Linked DNA regions of Homo sapiens: region 2 is linked to region 1. The links are contacts of gene promoters, found by promoter capture Hi-C in blood cells and fetal thymus (Javierre and others, 2016). All regions are on one chromosome and are shown on one strand. The core of a region is centred on a gene start or on the middle of the fragment in contact, and the rest is flanking DNA. Distances in the headings are between cores, read along the strand shown.

Evidence for each region. Contacts are between HindIII fragments. The CHiCAGO score rates a contact against its expected background, and 5 or more counts as called.
Region 2: a fragment that was not itself captured here is called in contact with the fragment with the promoter of SLC25A35 in region 1 in 12 of 17 cell types (endothelial precursors, naive CD8 T cells, total B cells and 9 more); the score reaches 8.1 in endothelial precursors.

Annotation. Positions count from the first base shown.
Region 1 is chr17:8,293,086-8,297,882 of GRCh38, forward strand. It overlaps SLC25A35 (solute carrier family 25 member 35), which reads right to left and starts at 2,315. Exons shown (of 5, transcript NM_001320870.2): 1 at 1,348-2,315. The coding sequence starts at 1,722. RefSeq lists enhancers at 2,035-2,114, 2,135-2,184, 2,805-2,934. The HindIII fragment of the contact is 5,205 bases long and covers 1,964-4,797 here.
Region 2 is chr17:8,249,549-8,254,345 of GRCh38, forward strand. It overlaps PFAS (phosphoribosylformylglycinamidine synthase), which reads left to right. Exons shown (of 28, transcript NM_012393.3): 2 at 4,311-4,531; 3 at 4,618-4,753. The coding sequence starts at 4,390. Among named protein-coding and RNA genes, the nearest start is that of PFAS, 2.7 kb to the left of the region's middle. The HindIII fragment of the contact is 2,695 bases long and covers 129-2,823 here.

The DNA.
Region 1 (4,797 bases), core at 1,065-3,564:
GACTGCCTCTGCTACAGGACATACTACTTCCCCGTCTCTTTTGCTCTTGGGAGCACTAAGCAGGGCCTAGTCCTAGCAATAAACAGCTGTGTGACCTTGAGTGGGTCACTTCCCCTTTCTGGGCCTCAGGCTCTTGACCCTTCACCTATACCAGATAACTCAAAGGGGCAGATGTTGAGATTGTTAATTCTGTGATGCCCAGGGCCTTCCTGATCCCTAGACTCTCTGACGTATGTTAAATTCCTTATCCTCCCCTTCACAAATCCAACCTCAATATCAACACATAATAATAAAAACAAATGCTACCAAATGCTTACTGTCTGCCAGGATTCGCACTAATGCTTTCATGTCTACCGCATTTGTCTCCCTCGATCCTCCCAATAATCACACAGAAAGGGCACTATAATTATCACCATTTTACAGATGTGGCAACTGAAGCTCAACAACTAGTAATTTTCTTTCTTTTCTTTTTTTTTTTTTTTTTGAGACGGAGTCTCTCTCTCTGGCCCAGGCTGGAGTGCAGTGGCCGGATCTCAGCTCACTGCAAGCTCCGCCTCCTGGGTTTAGGCCATTCTCCTGCCTCAGCCTCCGGAGTAGCTGGGACTACAGGCGCCCACCACCACGCCCGGCTAATTTTTTGTATTTTTAGTAGAGACGGGGTTTCACCGTGTTAGCCAGGATGGTCTCCATCTCCTGACCTCGTGATCCGCCCGCCTCGGCCTCCCAAAGTGCTGGGATTACTGGCGTGAGCCACCGCGCCCGGCCAACAACTAGTAATTTTCAAAGCCAGGATTTTAGTTCCAGAAAGTCTGATTCCAAAGCCCATAATCTTTTTTTTTTTTTTTTGTGAGACGTAGCCTTGCTCTGTGGCCCAGGCTGGAGTGCAGTGACCGGATCTCGGCTCACTGCAAGCTCCGCCTCCCGGGTTCATGCCATTCTCCTGCCTCAGCCTCCCGAGTAGCTGGGACTACAGGCGCCCACCACCGCACCCGGCTAATTTTTTGTATTTTTAGTAGAGACGGGGTTTCACTGTGTTAGCCAGGATGGTCTCCATCTCCTGACCTCGTGATCCGCCCGCCTTGGCCTCCCAAAGTGCTGGGATTACAGGTGTGAACCACTGCACCCGGCCCCAAAGCCCATAATCTTAATCAATACATTCAATCGTGTCCATCAGATGGGTGTGTATAGGGCAGATCAGAAGACTCCGAAGCCTACCAGCACTTTCCTGATGCCTTTCCCTGCTTGCAGTGGGGCAGCACTCTGCCACCTATGCCCTTGGGAAAGAACAGCTCCTATCCTACAACGAGGATCTGCCCTGAAGGTCCCAGGCAAGAGCCCTCTTCTTACCATGTAGATGGGGCTCCCCAAGTAGGCTCCCATGACCCCAGCCATGGCCCCAGCTGCTGCGCTGCGGGCAGGACTGTGGGTGCCTTCGGCTGTGTGCAGGTAGCCCCCAGCCTCAGCCAGCCCATAGGTGCCCAGTCGGATGCCATTCATCAGGAACTGGTACAAGAGGGCGGGGGCCAGGCCTTTCTGCAGGGCAGCAAGGCCATCCACCTTGCCGATGGTGATGAAGGCATGGAAGACATTTCGGTAGTGCCGCTGGTATGTGCCAGGGGCCTGCAGTTCTCCTTGCAACTGCATCCTGGTCTTCACCACCTCCAGGGGATTGGTGAATACACAGGCCCCGCAGGCTGCCAGGCCACTCATCAAGAAGTCCATGGTGGGATAGCTGTAGCAGGAACTGACCCAAGAGTAAGAAAGTAAAAATGGGTGTCAGAAAGCGGGGTTGGAAGACAGGGGGAAGGCCTGTTTCAGCAGTACAGGTTGCAGAAGATAAGAATTTAGATTTGCAGTCAAGGGTGTCAGGGTCAAATGTCAAGTGGTCAAACGTCAGCTGGAATTTGGGAGTCAAGAGCTGGCAAGCAGGGAAGAGATAGAAATCTAGGAGATTCTGGTGAGAAGCTTAAGGCAGGACCCTCTGAGGTCAAGGAGGGGCAAAAGACAGAAGGTTGCAGGTGGGATGGCTCAGGATGGCGGGCGACGGGAGCACGGGAGTAGAGGAGGGAATCGCGGGGTTGGGAGATGGAAGCCAGGGAGGCAGGAAGAAGAAAGCCAGCAAGTGAGAGAAGAAAAGGATCCGGGAGAAGAGCCGGTGATTTCCTCGAGCCAGCAACGAGATCTCGATCCGAGAAAGAAGTCAGGACTCTGGCCAGGAATGAGCGTCCCTGAGCGTCCCCAGGCAGCCACCGGAGCTCGCAGTAGCTTCAACCCCGGGTAGCCTGCGGAGGCCGGGCCGCCACACTCCTGCCACTGGAGCGCGGGGCCAATGGGGAGCCTTCAAGAGCCACAACCGAGGCCCTCAGCCAATCAGCGCCGAGCCGGCTCCGCGGCCAAAGGGAGGAGCTCTCGGCGCTCCTGTCCCCGGAATCACCCGGAGGCGGTTGGAATTAACTGTCCAGGCTCCGCCACCAGCGCTCGGCCGCCGACTCCGGCTCCGGAAGGGAGGCCCGGGACGCGGCGGTTTTGTTATTGGCAGGGAAGAGACCTGGGTTCCCGATCGAACACAGAGGCCGAGCGCAGCAGTCCCCCACTGGGGTGCTGGGACCGCCCCTCGGGTGGGCGGACGGCTTTAGCTTCCTACCCCGGGTTGTGACCGGGTGGGGTCACATAAGTTCAGGTCCACGCCCTGCTCGGTGCCGGCGCCAGGAGAGCCAGGAAGACGCGGCCCGGCTTGCGGGGGGTAGAGGGACACACTTGCGCTGCGGGACCAGTCTCCTGAGGCTGCACGGGTTGGTGCTTGGTTAATTAAATCCTTAGTCCTTAGGCTCTTTATTTTTATTTTTTATTTTTTTTGAGACGGAGTCTCGCTCTGTCGCCCAGGCTGGAGTGCAGTGGCGCGATCTTAGCTCACTGAGAGCTCCGCCTCCCGGGTTCACGCCATTCTCCTGCCTCAGCCTCCCAAGTAGCTGGGACTACAGGTGCCCGCCACCACGCCCGGCTTATTTTTTGTATTTTTAATAGAGACCACCGTGTTAGCCAGGATGGTCTCGATCTCCTGACCTCGTGATCCACCCGCCTCAGCCTCCCAAAGTGCTGGGATTACAGGCGTGAGCCACCATCCCTGGCCTGGAGTTCTTTCATATGAGATATTTGTCTCTACTCCTCCATTATTTATTCAACCATTTATTTAATCAGTATGGACTCATGGACATTTATACTTTGGGTTATAATCCAATATACTTCATATTTATTTTCTAGCTAATTTCGTTCTAGCTTTGGCCTTTGAGAGCTGTTTCCGTTGGCTCCTGTGTCTCTTTAGCATACCCCCATCCATTTTTTTTTGCACACAAAAGTTTTTAGTTTATAAATCTTGTGAAAAATCCACAGTGGCCACAGATGTTACTGTAGCATCTTTACTCCTTTGGCTTTTTGCCACACCAACACTGTCCTTTGCAGTCCCCCTTTCTTCATTCTGGTCTTGTGTTCCTTTCATTGCTTTCTTGAGTTCTTTTCTTCTCATCCAGGCCATGTCTTGGAAGTCAGCATTTGGGTTTATTTTTCTTTGCATAATCCAGTGAATCATAAATCATGCCAAAGCCAGTTGTCTTGCCACCACCAAAATGAGTTCTGAATCCAAATACAAAGATGAGGCCAGGCGTGGTGGCTCACGCCTGTAATCCCAGCACTTTGGGAGGCAGAGGCAGGCAGATCACATGAGGTCAGGAGTTTGAGACCAGCCTGGCCAACATTGTGAAACCCTGTCTCTGCTAAAACTACAAAAATTAGCCGGGTGTGGTGGCAGGCACCTGTAATCCCAGCTACTCGGGAGGCTGAGGCAGGAGAATCACTTGAACCCAGGAGGCAGAGGTTGCAGTGAGCCGAGATTGCGCCACTACACTCCAGCCTGGGTGACAGACGGAGACTCCATCTCATAAAGACAAACAAAAACAAACAAAGATGATGACATCTAGTGTAGTCTCATACATTTTGGCTAGTTTTTCCTGAATTTCTGTCTTAGGTACTGTTGTCTTCCCAGGGTGAAGGACCTCAATAACCATTTGTTCCTCCTGAAGTATGTAGTCAGTTGATCATGAACTTCCTAGTTCAGATAGTTACTAAGTCATTCATGATGGCGGTCAATCCTCAACCAGGGAGAAAAATAAGAGTCCCATCAGTGTTGTTGTCATCATTGGTATTTTAATTAAAACCTTGTTTTTATTTAGTGTCACCTTACTTTCTGGTACTATAAAATGCTCCAGGCTCATTTTGTGTATTTCCTGCCACAGTCCTGCAATCAGCCATTTCTCCAAGGACCCCTATTTTCTTTTATTGGCAAATGGTTTTAGAATCCAAGATCTGGGCCCTAGGTGTGCTTGTTGCTTTTGAGGTATCATTGCTTCTGGACCCTCACATCTGAGAAAGCAAGGAAATATATGTGTGTATACTAACCCACGTATATACACAAACATGTATTTCCATATATAACCATCCATATCTATATTAAGCTAAGCATGAATTCATACTGATGTCTCCAACTTTAATCCATTACTACATGGATCATTCTAGCCACCTCCCTTGTTTATCTAAACTCCCACCCCAACTGTGAGAAACCTGGCTTCCATAATTTGCCATCTATTTACTTAATTGTTTATTCCAGGACACGTGTATAGGAGTATCAGAATTGTTTTGTTTTTCTTTTTAAATTCTTTATTATTATTATTATTATTATTATTTGAGACGGAGTTTTGTTCTTGTTGCCCATGCTAGAGTGCAATGTTGCAATCTCAGTTCACT
Region 2 (4,797 bases), core at 226-2,725, 44 kb before region 1:
TTAGCCCCATTGTCCCATTCATGGATTCAGCTAACAGAAAGACTGCCGGCCGCCTACTTTATATCAGGCACCATGCTGGTCATGGAATACAGCCCTCATGCACGCAAACCCTGTCTCTGAGCTCTTGAAGCTTATATTTTACTGGGAATGATAGACGGAAATCAAGTGGCTTAATAAACAAAATGCCTTCAGGAAGACTGTCCTGAAAGTTGGGGAGGGGCTGAAGAGTGGTGAGAATCAAGAGTTCATTAAGTCATTCCACAAGTTTTAGAATTTTTTTGCGTTTCAAGCCCTGGTATTGTTCTAAGCCTTGGTAATTCAATGGAAACGAAGCAGCAACATCCCATGCCCACGTAGAGATTTTTTTTCTAGTGGGGAATATAGAGCGAAAAATAAAAACATCCAATAGTGATAAGCGCTTTACAGGAAATTAAAATAGGGCCGGCCATCTGATAGTAACTACTTGAGTGGCTAGTGAAGCCTTTTCCACGAAGGCGAATCACCAGAAATCTAAATAACAAGAGCTAGCCATGCATATGTCAGGGTGAAAAAAATGCCTTCCAGGACTGAGCTTGGCAAGTTAGAGAAATAAAAAAGAAGCTAATGTGTGGTTGGTGCATTGTGGGTGAAAAAGAGAATGGTGTGAGATAGGGTTGGAAAGGTAGGCCAGAGAGTGGCCAGACTTGGTAAACCAGGATGCTGAGTTGGAATTTATACCATGTGTAATGGGAAGCCATAATCCACTTTATGCTGATGTGTGACAAATGAATTGTGGTTATGCAGTGGTCAGGAGGTTAATGCATTGGTCCAGGTGAGTGATGGTGGTGGCTTACTTGAACTAGAGTGAGGTAGTAGAGATGAAGAGATGAGAGATTTGAGACATGATTGGAAATAGATTTCCTGGTGGATTGGATTTAGAGAGTCTGAGGGAAAGAGAATTAAGGATGACTTCTGTGTTTTTGTCTTGAGCAACAAATTGGATGATGGTAGTGTTTACTGAGTGGCAAGACTAGGGGAACAGCAGAGTTTGGTGAGTAAAGCCAGGGTCCCGCTGAGAGGCAGTGGGACCAGAAATTGGATAGGTAGTTTGGGATAGATGGGGAGGGCCTTTGAATGTTAGGCTAAAAGTATTAACTGTAATAGTTCTGTTGCCTGATGCACACTGGAGGTCAATACACCAAGACACCAGGTTGCAGCAGAGAAAGAGGTTTAATCATAGGGCTGCTGAACAAGGAGACAGGAGGAAACCTCAAATCCATCTCCCAGAGTACTTTGGGGCTAGGGTTTTTAAAAAAGAGTTTGGAATAGGATTAGGATGAAGTGTGAAAATCATTGATTGAAGAGTGCAGGGTGAGGTCATGAAACAGGGAGATGAAGAAACTGATTCTCATGCTCACTTGGTTCCACTGTGGGAGTCTTTTTTTTTTTTTATTTTTTTTAATTTGAAAGATGAGGTCTGCCTGGCGCAGTCGCTCACGCCTATAATCCCAGCACTTTGGGAGGCTGAGGTGGGTGGATCACGAGTTCAAGAGATTGAGACCATCCTGGCGAACATGGTGAAACCCCATCTCTACTAAAAATACAAAAATTAGCTGGTCATGGTGGTGTGCACCTGTAGTCTCAGCTACTCGGGAGACCGAGGCAGGAGAATCGCGTGAACCCGCAAGGCAGAGGTTGCAGTGAGCCGAGATCGTGCCACTGTACTCCAGCCTGGCAACAGAGTGAGACCCCATCTCAAAAAAAGAAAAAGAAAGACGGGGTCTTGCTCTGTCACCCAGGCTGGAGTGCAGTGGCACAATCGTAGCTCACTGCAGCCTCAAACTCATGGGCTCAAGCGATCCTCTTACCTCAGCCTCTTGAGTAGCTGGGACCACAGGTACATGCCACCATGCCCCACTAATTTTTAATTTTTTTTTTTATAAAGACAGGGTCTTACCATGTTGCCCAGGGCTGGTCTCAAACTCCTGGGCTCAAGCAGTCCACTGCTTTGGCCTCCCAAAGTGCTGGGATTACAGGCATTGGGATTATAGGCGTGAGCCACTGCTCCTGGCTTCTGTGGGAGTCTTTGAGCTGGTGGAGTCAGCTGTTCTGCTGGAATTCAGGATCTGCTTAAGCAATTCTTTTTTTTTTTTTTTTTTTTTGAGTCAGAGTCTTACTCTGTCACCCAGGCTGGAGTGCAATGGCTCAATCTTGGCTCACTGCAACCTCTGCTTCCCAGGTTCCAGTGATTCTCCTGCCTCAGCCTCCCGAGTAGCTGGGACTACAGGTGCTTGCCACCACGCCCGGCTAATTTTTTGTATTTTTAATAGAGACAGGGTTTCACCACGTTGGCCAGGTTGGTCTTGAACTCCTGACCTCAAGTGATCTGCCCCTCTTGGCCTCCTAAAGTGCTAGGATTACAGATGTGAGCCACCATGCCCAGCCCTGCTTAAGCAATTCTTTTTTTTTGTTTTAATAATTTATGGGTCGGAATGGTGGCGCACGCCTGTAATCCCAACGCTTTGGGAGTCCGAGGCGGGCAGATCACTTGAGGTCAGGAGTTGGAGACCAGCCTGGCGAACATAGGGAAACCCCGTCTCTACTAATAATACAAAAATTAGCTGGGCGTGGTGGCGCATGCCTGTAATCTCAGCTACTTGGGAGGCTGAGGCAGGAGAATTGCTTGAACCCAGGTGGCAGAAGTTGCAGAGAGCCCAGATTGTGCCACTGCACTCCAGCCTGGGTGACAGAGTGAATCCATCTCAAAAAAAAAGAAAAAGAAAATAAATAAATAAATAAATAATTTATGACATGATATCATCAAGCAATAAATTCTTAAACAAAAGCTTTGTGATCAGAGATCCTTTTTTGTTTGTTTGTTTTTGTTTGTTTTGAGACAGAGTTTCACTCTTGTTGCCCAGGCTGGAGTGCAATGGCTCGATCTCAGCTCACTGCAACTTCCGCCTCCCGGGTTCGAGTGATTCTCCTGCCTCAGCCTCTCAATTAGCTGTGATTACAGGCACGCATCACCACGCCCGGCTAATTTTGTATTTTTTTTAGTAGAGATGAGGTTTCACCATGTTGGTCAGGCTGGTCTGGAACTCCTGATCTCAAGTTCTCACTGTGTTGCCCAGGCTGGAGTGCAGCGGCTTGATCACTGCTCACTGCAGCCTCCGCCTCCCCAGGCTCAAGTGATCTTCCCACCTCAGCCTCCCTAGTTGCTGGGACTACAGGCACATGCCAGCACACCCAGCAAATTTTTGTATCTTTTTTGAGAGAGATGGGGTTTTTGCCATGTTGCCCAGGTTGGTCTCGAACGCCTGTGCTCAATCCTCCCACCTCAGCCTCCAAAGGGCTAAGATTACAGGTGTTAGCCACTATGCCCCGCCCAATCTGGCCTCTTCTTATAAGGGCAGATTATAAGAGGTTTGGTGAGATTAGTAGCTCATTCTTGAGAGTTCCACTTTCATGACCTAATTACGTCCCAGAGGCCCCACCTCCAAATACCATAACATTGAGGATTAGGGTTTCAATATATGAATTGGGAGGGGGAGATACACAAACATTCAATCCATGGCTGATACCATTTCTCTCAGGAAATTTTTCCTGACACCTGAAGTGCAGGATTGGTGTCCACAGTCCCCTGACCTTCACCACACGGGACTGGAAATGTCTGGGTACTTGGCCTTTCTCCCCCAATAAAATATAAACCCTGTGAGAGCAGACAGAGTTTCTGTCTTGATTCACAGCGGTGTTTCTAAGACCTTGACTGGGGCCCAGCAAAGTGCATGTACTCCAGGAACACGTGTCAGGTGTGTGCCTGTACACCTCCCTACCACATTAATAAAGACCACATTTTGCAAGATTCCTTAAAATCTCCAAGGTTACATTTTTCAGGTTACCTTGTTTCTCTAAATGTCCATATTACTTTCCCCTACCCTATCCATAACGCCGCAATTTTCCTTGAAATCTGAAATCAGTTCAACAGATAGGCCATAGTTAATGTTATTTTTATTTTATTTATTTATTGAGACGGAGTTTTGCTCTTGTTGCCCAGGCTGGAGTGCAATGGCGCGATCTCGGCTCACTGCAACCTCTGCCTCCCGGGTTCAAGCAGTTCTCCTGCCTCAGCCTCCCTAGTAACTGTGATTACAGGCGCCCGCCACCACACCCAGCTAATTTTATATTTTTAGTAGAGACAGGGTTTCACTATGTTGGCCGGGCTGATCTCCAACTCCTGACCTCAGGCAATCCACCTGCCTCAGTCTCCCAAAGTGCTGGGGTTACAGATGTGAGCCACCACGCCCGGCTTAGTTAATGTTATTTTTTAGGAACCTAATTCATCTCTCCAGCAAAGGACACATCTCTCCAGCAAAGGACACCTCTCTCCAGCAAAGGACACCTGCAGAGATGTCCCCAGTCCTTCACTTCTATGTTCGTCCCTCTGGCCATGAGGGGGCAGCCCCTGGACACACTCGGAGGAAACTGCAAGGGAAACTGCCAGAGCTGCAGGGCGTCGAGACTGAACTGTGCTACAACGTGAACTGGACAGGTTGGGCCCAGGTATTAGATTCTTGGGGGACATGCCTCGGTGCTGGGGGCAGTGTCTCAAGGTGTCCTTGCCCTGTCTCCCTGCAGCTGAGGCCCTCCCCAGTGCTGAGGAGACAAAGAAGCTGATGTGGCTGTTTGGTTGCCCCTTACTGCTGGATGATGTTGCTCGGGAGTCCTGGCTCCTTCCTGGCTCCAATGACCTGCTGCTGGAGGTCGGGCCCAGGTAAGTATCTCATCCTGCCCACCCCTTTCTTCTGCTTTCCTTTG